Linked DNA regions of Homo sapiens: region 1 is linked to region 2. Evidence: promoter capture Hi-C in 16 types of primary human blood cells and fetal thymus (Javierre and others, 2016). All regions are on one chromosome and are shown on one strand. Each heading gives the region's core, a stretch centred on a gene start or on the middle of the fragment in contact. The rest is flanking DNA. Distances are from core to core; before and after follow the strand shown. Region 1 holds the start of ATF1 (activating transcription factor 1). Region 2 holds the start of LARP4 (La ribonucleoprotein 4).

Region 1 (5,921 bases), core at 1,636-4,135, 360 kb before region 2:
TCCGCTTAGCACCCAATATCAAACTAGCAAGGCTTAAATTTGCCCCCAGATGGGCCTGTCATCTTTAATTCAACCTCCGACTTGGAGTTTCAACATGTGGCCTCTAGGTAAGATGGTTGCCCTGAGTAATAGAAAAAATAAGAAACGCAAAGTAGATAAGAAAAGTATTGCCTGTGGCAGGGTGGGGAAGCTGAAGAGCTTAGGGAGGCCAGAGAAAAGACCCACTCATTGCAGCCGACAATGAAAACCTCAGGCAGCCGCTTGTACGCAGCAAAGGGACCTTTTCCAGCAGTCCCATCAGCTCTCAAGATTCCCCTTTTATGGGGGGAGGGGGGAGGGATAGCATTGGGAGATATACCTAATGCTAGATGACGAGTTAGTGGGTGAAGTGCACCAGCATGGCACATGTATACATATGTAACTAACCTGCAAAATGTGCACATGTACCCTAAAACTTAAATTAAAAAAAAAAAAGACTCCCCTTTTAGAGAGGAAAAAGCTCCCCATGTCCCACGATCCTGTTCATGCCTAACTCTGTCACCCACAGCCATCAGCAAAGAGCGCAAGGCAGATTAATCCAAAGAGAACAGCAGTTAATATCCCATAGTGCCAAACCTGTTCTTAGCTGAGAGGGAGTTACCTGAGAGGGACTCTAACTCCCTATATCTTAGAAGGGCCTCCAACCCAAGGTCAGTCAAGCTTAAGCGTCCTTGCCTTTTATTAAGAGGGGCCTCGAACCCACTGTCTTAGGAGAGACTCCTAAACATAAATACTGGGTTTCCGCAGTATAGTCGCTTCTGTGGCCACCACAAATACGTTACAGGACCCCAACACTTACCCAAAGGTAGCCGTTGGGTCAGGGTTTCTGCACTATAGTCCCTTTGTGGTCGCCAGAAATATGTTACAGGACAGGCGTCCTGATCCAGGCCCCAACTGAGGGTTCTTGGATCTCGCGCAAGAAATAATTCAGGGCAAGTCCACAGTGCGATGTAAAAGTAACATTATGAAGAAAGTAAAGGAATAAAAAGAACGGCTACTCCATAGACAGAGCAGCCCCAAGGGCTGCTGGTTACCCCTTTTTACTGTTATTTCTCAATGATAGGCTAAACAAGGGGTGGATTAATCACGCCTCCCCTTTTTAGACCATATAGGGTAACTTCCTGACATTGCCATGGGATTTGTAAATGGCGCTGATGGGAGTGTAGCAGTGAGGATGACCAGGGGTCACTCTTGTGGCCATTTCAGTTTTGGCCGGCTTCTTTACTGCAACCTGTTTTATCAGCAAGGTCTTCATGACCTGTATTTTGTGCTGACTTGTCTCATCCTGTGACTTAGAATGCCTTAACTGTCTGGGAATGCAGCCCAGTAGGTTTCAGCCTCATTTTACCCAGCTCCTGTTTAAGATGGAGTTGTTCTAGTTCACACGCCTCTGACACCATCTCTATTTAAAAACAAACAAACAAACAAACAAAACAAAACAAAAACTGGCAAAGATAGCACACCCTATATTTAAAGTCAGAAGGGACTGCCACCTGCTGGTGATCGGGTAGGAATGGACAGATAGCTCACAGACCAAACCTAACCCTAAAAGATAACGGCAAGTATTAAAGAGCTAATACATTCGACTTTAGGGCAACAGTATTGATTCTAATTAAGACACGGAGATAACTGCATATGATAAACTCCAAGAAAAAAGAGCATTTTAGAAGAACGCATTTCTGTTAACAAAAACCTCAGGTTAAAATGCATTCTGAGACATAAATGCCTACGAACTCATCACAGGTGAGGCCAGTTTGACAAAGATGCCTGCCAGATCCACGCCGAGCTTCTGAACCCTAAAGGTTCTCAAAGACTACCAGTTGCCCAATCTCTTCAAAACACTAGCGCCACAACCAGACATTATTTCACATTGCAATCATTTCAAAGCGATTCAGCCGCCAGCTGCACGGCGTCGATCAAAGTGAGAAATGCCAGGCTTCGTTTTTTGACATACAAGATCAAAGAGAAAGTCACCCTCGGCTGGGTCGCCCATCCCAAAGGGTACAGACGCCCTTGTGTCATTCCTAGCCAGGGGTAAAGCCGCCTACTGTCCCCACTCTGTCTCCGCTGCCAGGCGCATCTCTCCAGGACTGTCTGGGGCGTGCGCAATGCCCGTGCGTCGGTTGCCCGCTAGACTGCAAGCTCCAGGAGGGTAAGGGGCGCGCCTCTTCCCTCAGGGTCGCCAGCGCCGACGCGCTTCGAGGACCCTGTCGCGGGGTTAACCAGACCCGGGCTCCGCTCGGCGGACACCGCGCCGAGGCCATATCCGCGCCGCCCTCCGCCCGGCTCCGGGCCCAACCTCGAGACCTCCCACGGAGAGCTAGCGCCTGCGACTGCAAAGGGCGGCTTCTGAGGCGAAAGCCACCCCGCGGCGGGCGGTTTCGGGCTTTACTTTTATTTGGGGGCGAGGGAAAGGAGGAGACGCACGACTGGAAGGGCGCAGCGCAGCTCTGCACCGAGGCGCGGAGGCCGGAAGCGCGGGCGGCCCCTCCCCCTGCCGCTGCGCCCCTCCCCCACCGCCACCACCGCGCGCGACCCCCACCAGGCGCGCGACCCGCGCTGCGTCCCCGCCGGCGCCACGTTCCCGCGTCCTTCCCCGCCCGGGCCACGGGGCACGTCCCTCCCCGCCCCCCACTTACCTGTGGCTGCCGCCTCGCCGCTCTCCGGGGCGGGAACTTCCACTCCCCCCTCCCAGGTAGATCCGAATTCACTACCCACTTCCCCACCCCCTCACGCAGCGGGGGACAAGCCTCCTTCTCGGGGGTCAGGCGGGGCGGGGAGAATCAGTGTCACTTAACAGCCAACTGTCCTAAGCTACCGTTTCCTCGGCAGTCAGGGCCGCTACTGGCGGCATGATCTACACAAGCCTGGGGGCGGGGGCGGGGGCGGGGGAGGGGAGGGGGGCAAAACTGAGCACTAGTGTGCGTTTGGGGTAGGCTATGGCGCTGCCTCCGCGCGGGCCGCCGTCCTGCGTCACCGCGCTGCCCACGTGACGCGCCGCCATCTTGTACGCGGTCCTGACTTGTGGCTAGGGGTTCCTCGGAACGCGTTCCTCAGGCTGCAGCGGGAGAGGGACGGTGCCTGCGGTTCCGTTTCTCCTTAGGAGCTGTACCCCACCCGCCCTACGTCCGCTTCCGGAGGCCATGAGCAGCTGGGTGCTCGCGGGGGGCGTTTTCATCGATTAGTGGCGGCGCTGTCAACTCACCTGCCAATTGACCTTGACCGACGCCGGCCCTGTCCTCTTGGAAGGAGAAATGAAGAGTGAAGGCTTTGACTTCCTCAGCTTTTTTTTTTTTTTTTTTTTTTTAGATGGAGTCTCTTTTTTTTTTCCGAGATTGAGACGGGGGTCTGTGGCCCAGGCTGTAGTGCAGTGGTTCGATCTCGACTCACTGCAGCCTCCAACCCCGGGATTCAAGCGATTCTCCAACCTCAGCCTATGGGGCAGCTGGGACCACAGGCGCGCGCTACCACGCTCGGCTTGAAGAGATGAGGACTCTATGTTGCTCAGGCTGGTCTTGAACTCCTGGGCTCAAGTGATCCTCCGCCTCGGCCTCTCAAAGTTCTGGGATTACAGGCGTGAGCCACCGTGCCCGGCCTTACTCAGATTTTTCTTAATCCCATAAAGTAACAATGAGTTGTGTCCTTTAACCCATGTGGAAGGATTTTCTACAGAAACGGATTTACAATGAGACATAACGATGTGGCCGGGCGCGGTGGCTCATGCCTGTAATCCCAGCACTTTGGGAGGCCCAGGAGGGCGGATCACCTGAGATCGGGAGTTCGAAACCAGCCTGACCAACATGGAGAAACCCCGTCTCTACTAAAAAATACAAAAGTAGCCGGGTGTGGTGGCGAATGCCTGTAATCCAAGCTACTTGGGAGGCTGAGGCAGGAGAATCGCTTGAACCCGGGAGGCGGAGGTTGCGGTGAGCCGAGATCGCACCGTTGCACTCCAGCCTGGGCAACAAGAGCAAAACTGTCTCAAAAAAAAAGAAAAAAGAAACGTAACAGAGTGTTAATAAAATGTTATGCCGTCATTTTAATGCATTACAAAAACTTCAGAATATTTTTGGGTCTACCTCTCTGGAAGGGAGTTATGCCTTATTCTTAATTTTTAAAATTTCCTTGTAAAATGCTGTTTTATGGCTTTAATGATAGTAAACGACAAAAGATAAACTTTTTTAGTATGCTCTTGACAAAAGTTCCGAAAGTTTTCTGAAATTTTACTAGTTTGAGATCCCCAATTTAGGAAACCGATTTAGTGGAGAGAGCTTTGCCTATTTTTGGCCCTTTGGGTCGGAGAATGTGATATAAAGCCGAAGATTTACTCTGCCAGACAGTCTTAAGAGGTCACTAACGTTTAGCTATTGACATTCAGCAAAAATTGTGGATTACCTATTAAATGCTAGACCAGGGGACAACTGTTATTAAGTCAGTGTTTCAGCATTACTGAAAGAAAAGTGGCCTATAAAGGTAAGGGAGAGGAAGAGTTTCTCAGATACCAGCCTTCGATGATTAACAAAGTCCAGCCTCAATCATTCTGGAATCCAGAATATTGATGGCTGGAAGGCTGGTTGTACAAGTTTATTGTTCTTTGGTGTTTGGTTTTTTCTTCCGTGGACCACAGAATGCTTAACAAAAGTTGATCAGTAAAAAGCGGGGGAGGGGCTAGGCGTCGTGGTTCATGACTGTAATTCCAGCACTTTGGGAGGTGGGGGAGGGCAGATCACCTGAGGTCAGGAGTTCGAGACCAGCCTGGCCAACATGGTGAAACCCCGTCTCTACTAAAAATACAAAAATTAGCCAGGTGTGGTGGCACACACCTGTAATCCCAGCCTCTCAGGAGGCTGAAGCATGAGAATCGCTTGAACCTGGGAGGCAGATGTTGCAGTGAGCCAAGATCACGCCACTGCACTCCAGCCTGAGCCACAGAGGGAGACTGTCTCCAAAGAAAAAAAATAAAAACCTGGAAATTTTATTGAAAAATGAAACCTTCAAAATGTGCCTTGACTACTTCTTTAGCTCCTCTTCCTTAGTGCCTTAGGTCTAAATCAAATGTTACGCTCGACCAGTCCTGGTGGCATGCGCCTGTAATCCCATCTACTGGGGAGGCTGAGGCAGGAGGATCATTTGAGCTCGGGAGTTTGAGGATACAGTGAGCTGTGATCATGCCACTGCACTCAAGCCTACATGACAGATGAGACACTGTCTCTAATTTTTTTTTTTTTTTTGAGATGGAGTCTGCCTCTGTCGCCCAGGCTGGAGTGCACTGGTGCAATCTTGGCTCGTTGCAACCTCCACCTCCCGGATTTCAGTGATTCTCCTGCCTCAGCCTCCAAGTAGCTGAGAGATTACAGGTGTGTGCCATCACAGCTGGCTAATTTTTGTAGTTTTTTAAGTAGGGACGGGGTTTCACCATGTTAGCCAGTCTTGGTCTCGAACTGCTGACCTCAAATGATCCGCCTGCTCAGCCTCACAAAGTGCTGGGATTACGAGCATGAGCCACGGCACCTAGCCTCTAAAATAATTTTTTTTAAAATTGTTTAAAAAACAACTCAGGCCGGGCACGGTGGCTTACGCATGTAATCCCAGCACTTTGGAGGGCGCGGTGGGTGGATCACCTGAGGTCAGGAGTTCGAGACCAGCCTGGCAAATATGACGAAACTCCGTCTCTACTGAAAATACAAAAGTTAGCCAGACGTGATGGCGTGAGCCTACAGTCCCAGCTACTCGGGAGGCTGAGACAGGAGAATCGCTTGAACCCAGGAGGCGGAATTTGTGGTGAGCCGAGATCGTGCCACTGCACTCCAGGCTGGGCAACAGTGAGACTCCATCTCAAAAAAAAAAAACAAAAACAAAAAACCACGACTCAGTTGACAGAG
Region 2 (5,515 bases), core at 893-3,392:
AAACCCCATCTCTACTAAAAATACAAAAATTAGTTGGGCGTGGTGGCATGCGCCTACAGTCCCAGCTACTCGGGAGGCTGAGGCAGGAGAATCACTTGAACCCAGGAGGTGGAGGTTGCAGTGAGCCGAGATGGCGCCACTGCACTCCAGCCTGGGCAACAAGAGTGGAAACTCCGTCTCAAAAAAAAAAAAAAAAAAAAAAAACTGCTTGAACCCAGGAGGCGGAGGTTGCAGTGAGCTGAGACTGCGCCACCCTCTAGCCTCGGTCTCAGAGCGAGACTCGGTCTCAAGAGGAAAAAAATAAAACAAACCAATAATCTACTGAAGTCAATATAGTTGGTCTTGCTCTGTCACCCGGCCTGGAATGCAGTGGCACAATCACGGCTCATTCCAGCCTTGACCTCCCATACTCAAGCGAAACTCCTGCCTCTGCCTCCCTAGTAGCTGGGACTACAGGTACATGCCACCACATTGGGCCCAAGGCCAGGTTTTAAAAAGTTGCATCTAAGTATTATTTACATAGGATTGATTCCTTGTCTGCAATATATTCTACTCCAATACAAGTAGGTGGTTGATGAGTTCTAATACAAGCTTCCATGTTCACTAGCTGTATAAACTTAGGCAAGTTTAAATTATATGTGCCTTAGTTTCTTTTTTTTGAGACAGAGTCTCACTCTGTTGTCCAGGCTGGAGTGTAGTGGTGCCATCTCAGCTCACTGCAACCTCTGCCTCCCAGGTTCAAGCGATTCTCCTACCTTAGCCTCCCGAGTAGCTAGGATTACAGGTGTGTGCCACCACCTCTGGCTAATTTTTGTATTTTTAGTAGAGATGGGGTTTCACCATGTTGGCCAGGCTGATCTCAAACTCCTGACCTCAGGTGATTTGCCACCCACCTCAGCCTCCCAAAGTGCTGGGATTACAGGCATGAGCCACTGCGCCCAGCTGCCTTACTTATCACTAAAATGGGGATACTAACACCTCATAGAGATATTGAGACTTAAGATGTACAGATATCTATATATGCAAAAACATCAAACGTTCCTGACACAAAGCACGATACAAGTATATACTACTACTGTTGTTATTGTTATATTGCTATTATCTATCCTACTGATTCTAGTGGGATAGTTAAGCTGGAATCTCTCCAGAAAAATACACATAAGTAAAAGGTATTGAACACAACTGCAGAGGACCCAGGGATCCCAGATTAACCCTGCCAAAGATGATCCACAAGCAAGTTGGTTTAGTAAAGCAGTTCTTAACCTCTTCTGTGACACAGACCTCTTTAGTAGTCCAATTAATCTATGGATCTCTTCTCCGTTTTTTTACATTTCTAAAATATATAGGATCACAAAGTAAACCAATTATATTGAAACGCAGTTATCAAAATATTTTAAAATGTCTAATATAGCAATACGTTAACAATATTTTTGACATATAGCAAGTAATGAGCATAAATATTTCAAGATAACTGCAAAAGCTGTAATACATGTAAAAAAGTGATTTGTCTTGGTGACAAGGTCACATACACTGTTGCTGCCATTAACATTTAAAGAATTTTCACTTCTTTTCCATTTAGATTTCAGTTAGAAGCTAGAGAAAATAAACACGCAAATTTTTTTCCTCAACCAAGCTTAGGTACTTACTTCCTCAATTCTATCCAAAAACCTAGATTAAGAACCTTTGACTTATGGGAAAGTACAAAAATAATTTTGAAGCCAGAAATTTATGTTCTAGAAGTCAGACTTCAGACTTTAGCCCCCACATTATTTACACTTGAATGACCTTAGACATCTAACTTCTGAGCTTTGGTTCTCTCACTGAGAATAATTCCTCTATCATGAGGTTACAGGGATCAAATATTAGTTAACAAAACGCCAAACGACCAACATGTTGTTTTTCACTGATTTTAATACCACATATTCAGCCCCAAATATTTAAAGACAGTTAATTTTCAATAAAACTCATATGAGAAAATGAAGAATGACATAGTGACTCACAAAGAAAATGATTAATGGAGATACAACTTTTAAACACTAGTTTGGCGAGAGATACGATAGAATTTGTCTAACCTGGGGAGTCGGACAGGCCTGAATTGCTAACATCCCGTCCATGATTTGACATCAGCATGACCTGGATCTAAATCCCAGTTAAACTACTTTACTTTTACTAAGTAAAGTTACTTTAACCTCTGGGGCTCGGTTTTGTCATCTGTAAAACATATTAAGTATCGCTTTAGAGACAGGAGAAGACCTAGTTTAAACAATAAATGGAGCTGTTATTAAAACTTACATTTTAATAAAGCCAAAGGAATCAATTTGGAAGTCAAAAGTATATTGTGGAGTTCCTGTCAATATAAACTTCACAATCTTTCTTCTGCCCAGCAAAACACACACTTAAAACCTGTGGTATTTACATAGCATAACATTCCTTAAAAAAACTGGCTGGCACTGGCTTAAAATCTTATCTGATTTCTTATTCTGCCTAAGGAAAACAACAATGAGGACAGAAAACAGTAAACAGAATGAGTTCAGTAATTTTAAGTCTTTTCATGATTTCCCCGGAATGTTCCAATGAATGTTTATTATGAATGTTAGATACACTCTAATGTAGCAGTCTTTTAAAAAACTAATTTAAAGATATCAAGCTTATCGGCGACACAATATCAGTTAGTTTAAAGAGAAAAAAAAACCGTAAAATCATTTATTTACTTTATGCTGGAATATTACGGAGTAAGATTTTCCCACAACCCGGAAAAAAAAATCTGCCATAGGCTGGCCCCGGCTCCTAGATTCATTATACAACCCGTAAATTCCTTCCCTCATTGAAAAGATTCTTCTTATGGGCATAGTTAACAAATGCCAAGTTGCGAAGTTGCAGCTTTGCTGGTTTGACGTTTTCACAATGTAAGAACAATATGATCTGGAATCTACTCAAAGCATTAGCCAGGCAGTCAGCTGACGCTCACTGCACACAAGAGGACAGAATTAAGGGAAATTAAATTTCGTATTTCTGTAAGGCAGGTATCCAACTCTATCTTGAAAACTAAAATAGGCCAACAGCAGACGTTCTAGTTTAAGTAATAAAAGTGTCTCATTGTTCAAATAACATTACAAAAAACGGCTTTTCCCGGAATAAGTTTCCCTCATTCTTGGAATTTTCCTTGTAAAGGGCTTTTAATCGGTTCATAGAACCAACCCTTCATCACGCAGCTGCTGCTTGAGTAACTTTTACAAAAGGTCAAAGCGGTGCCTTTCAAGGCTTCCAAACCCTACTGGCTTCTCCTCGATTCAAAGTAACTCGCTTTCACCCACAGAACGTTCCAGAGACCTAGGGACGGGGCCCGGGCAGAATTTGGTGGAAGTTGCTCAAAAGAACTTTTCAATTTTCTTTTCAAAATACTTACCGCATTTCACCTTTCTCCATCCGTGGCCCCACATGTTGCTCGCCTCCCTCCCAGAGGGGCCCCGCGAGGCCGCGCTCGGCCCCCGGAACGCGCCCACCTGATTACCCTCTCCTCCCTCAGACTCCGCCCCCCAACCCCCCAATGCTGCCTCCTTTAGGAGGTCCATATGGGACACTTTCCCCTTCCTCTGAACCTCACCGCCACACCAGAACAGCCCTCCGTTTTTCTCCTTCAATTCTTCTCCACTACGGGCCTCACCTCCCATAGCTTCCTAGAGTGTTGTGAGCGCGCAGAGGGAAGCTGCAGGCCTGCTCGGCCCAGGTGCTGTGTCAGCCTATCTGCCGGTTCCGCGGCGTGTACGGCCCGGAAAGTCACATGGCGGTGGGACCGGCCGGCGCCTCTACACTCCTGCTCTCCTAAGAGCAGGACGAGACTAGCATAATGCACTCACCTCCACGAAAAGCAACATGTCGTCCTCTGCTCAGCCCAATCGTTCCCGCCGCCGCAACTCCAACTGGCTCACAGGCCCGCGCCCCAATTGCTAGGATAAGGACACACACTCGCCTTGCCCCTCCACCCGGCAGTGGACCCGGCTCCTCCCCTGCCGTCAGCCGCTGCGGCCTGACCCGCCCAGTCCCACCTCCCTTGAAACAACAACTGCTTCCGGGTCTAGGGAAAAATTGTTTCCGGGAGAAAAGAGAGCCCTCGGCGCGCTCAACTTTTGCACTATCTTTTCCAGCAGCAGTGTGGGATGTACTATCATCTGTCGGGGGGAACGATTAGAAGGAGACGCCATTCTGTGGCACGGGGATGTGTAAAAATCGTAATGACACATTTTATCACTTGTCAGATAGCTACACAGCACTGATAATTCCGCAGTTTTCATAGTTCACAATCTAGATTTGATTTTTAAAGCCGACCTTGGCGAAGTGTACTGAACAAACCAACCCTGCCGAAAAGTGGTGGCTCACAGAAGAAAAGTAGACAAGAAAAAAAAAACAAAAAACTATGATACTAGCAAATATGTTAATAGCAGCTAATGTATATTAAATGCTTACATTGTGTTTGGCACTATACTAAGCATTTTATGTTAATTGATCTTAAAACAATTCTATGCAATAAACACTATTATTATCATCCCCATTTTACAGTTGAAGAAGCCCTCTAGGAGGTCGGGTTTCCCTTTAAAGAACTTTGCCCCAGGCTCATTTGAATTAATTACCCATGTCACCGCTTAATATACCAGTAATAACACTTAATCTGGACAGTGTCTTCTTTGACGTTCTGTCATTAATTCAAACGAAATACAATAAAAACAAAATTTTTAAAATTATCTATAATTTTTGTTAGATGGTCCAAATTCCTTATTGTCTTTAGCAATATGTAGTAGGATAGATCGCTCCCACTTGTATGTCCTAGTTCAAACACTCATCTTTTGAAATAATCATGTCTTGGCTGGGAAGGGTGGCTCACGCCTATAATCCCAGCAATTTGGAAAGCTGAGGCGGGCGGATCACTTGCGGTCGGGAGTTCAAGACCAGCCTGGCCAACATGGTAAAACCCCATCTCTACTAAAAATACAAAAATTAGCCAAGTGTGGTGGTGCACACCTGTAATCCCAGCTACTCGGGAGGCTGAGGCAGGCGAATCGCTTAAACCCAGGAGGTGGAGTTAATAGTGAGCCAACATCGCGCCACTGCACTCCAGCCTGGGTGACAGAGTGAGACTCTGTCTCAAATATAGTAATAATAATAGTAACGAATAAAAATTGGCCGGACACCGTGGCTCACGCCTGTAATTCTAGCACTTTGGGAGGCCGAGGCGGGTGGATTGCCTTAGCTCAGGAGTTCAAGACCAGCCTGGGCAACATGGTGAAATGCCATCTCTAGTAAAATACAAAAAATTAGCCAGGCATGGCAGTGTGTGCCTGTAGTCCCAGCTACGTGGGAGGCTGAGGCAGGAGAATTGCTAGAACCTGGGAGGCAGAGGTTGCAGTGAGCCAAGATCACGCCACTGCACTCAAGCCTGGGTGACAGAGTGTGACTCTGTCTCTAAAAAATAATAATAATAAATAAAAATGAAATAATCATGTCTTGATCTTTTCCAATG

Evidence for each region. Contacts are between HindIII fragments. The CHiCAGO score rates a contact against its expected background, and 5 or more counts as called.
Region 1: the fragment with the promoter of ATF1 here is called in contact with a fragment that was not itself captured in region 2 in 1 of 17 cell types (M2 macrophages); the score reaches 5.1 in M2 macrophages.

Annotation. Positions count from the first base shown.
Region 1 is chr12:50,761,065-50,766,985 of GRCh38, reverse strand. ATF1 (activating transcription factor 1) reads right to left here and starts at 2,885. Exons shown (of 7, transcript NM_005171.5): 1 at 2,679-2,885. RefSeq lists enhancers at 2,022-2,121, 4,422-5,290 and silencers at 2,542-2,631, 2,852-2,931. The HindIII fragment of the contact is 10,692 bases long and covers 702-5,921 here.
Region 2 is chr12:50,399,371-50,404,885 of GRCh38, reverse strand. It overlaps LARP4 (La ribonucleoprotein 4), which reads right to left and starts at 4,001. Exons shown (of 16, transcript NM_052879.5): 1 at 3,858-4,001. The coding sequence starts at 3,875. The HindIII fragment of the contact is 1,014 bases long and covers 1,636-2,649 here.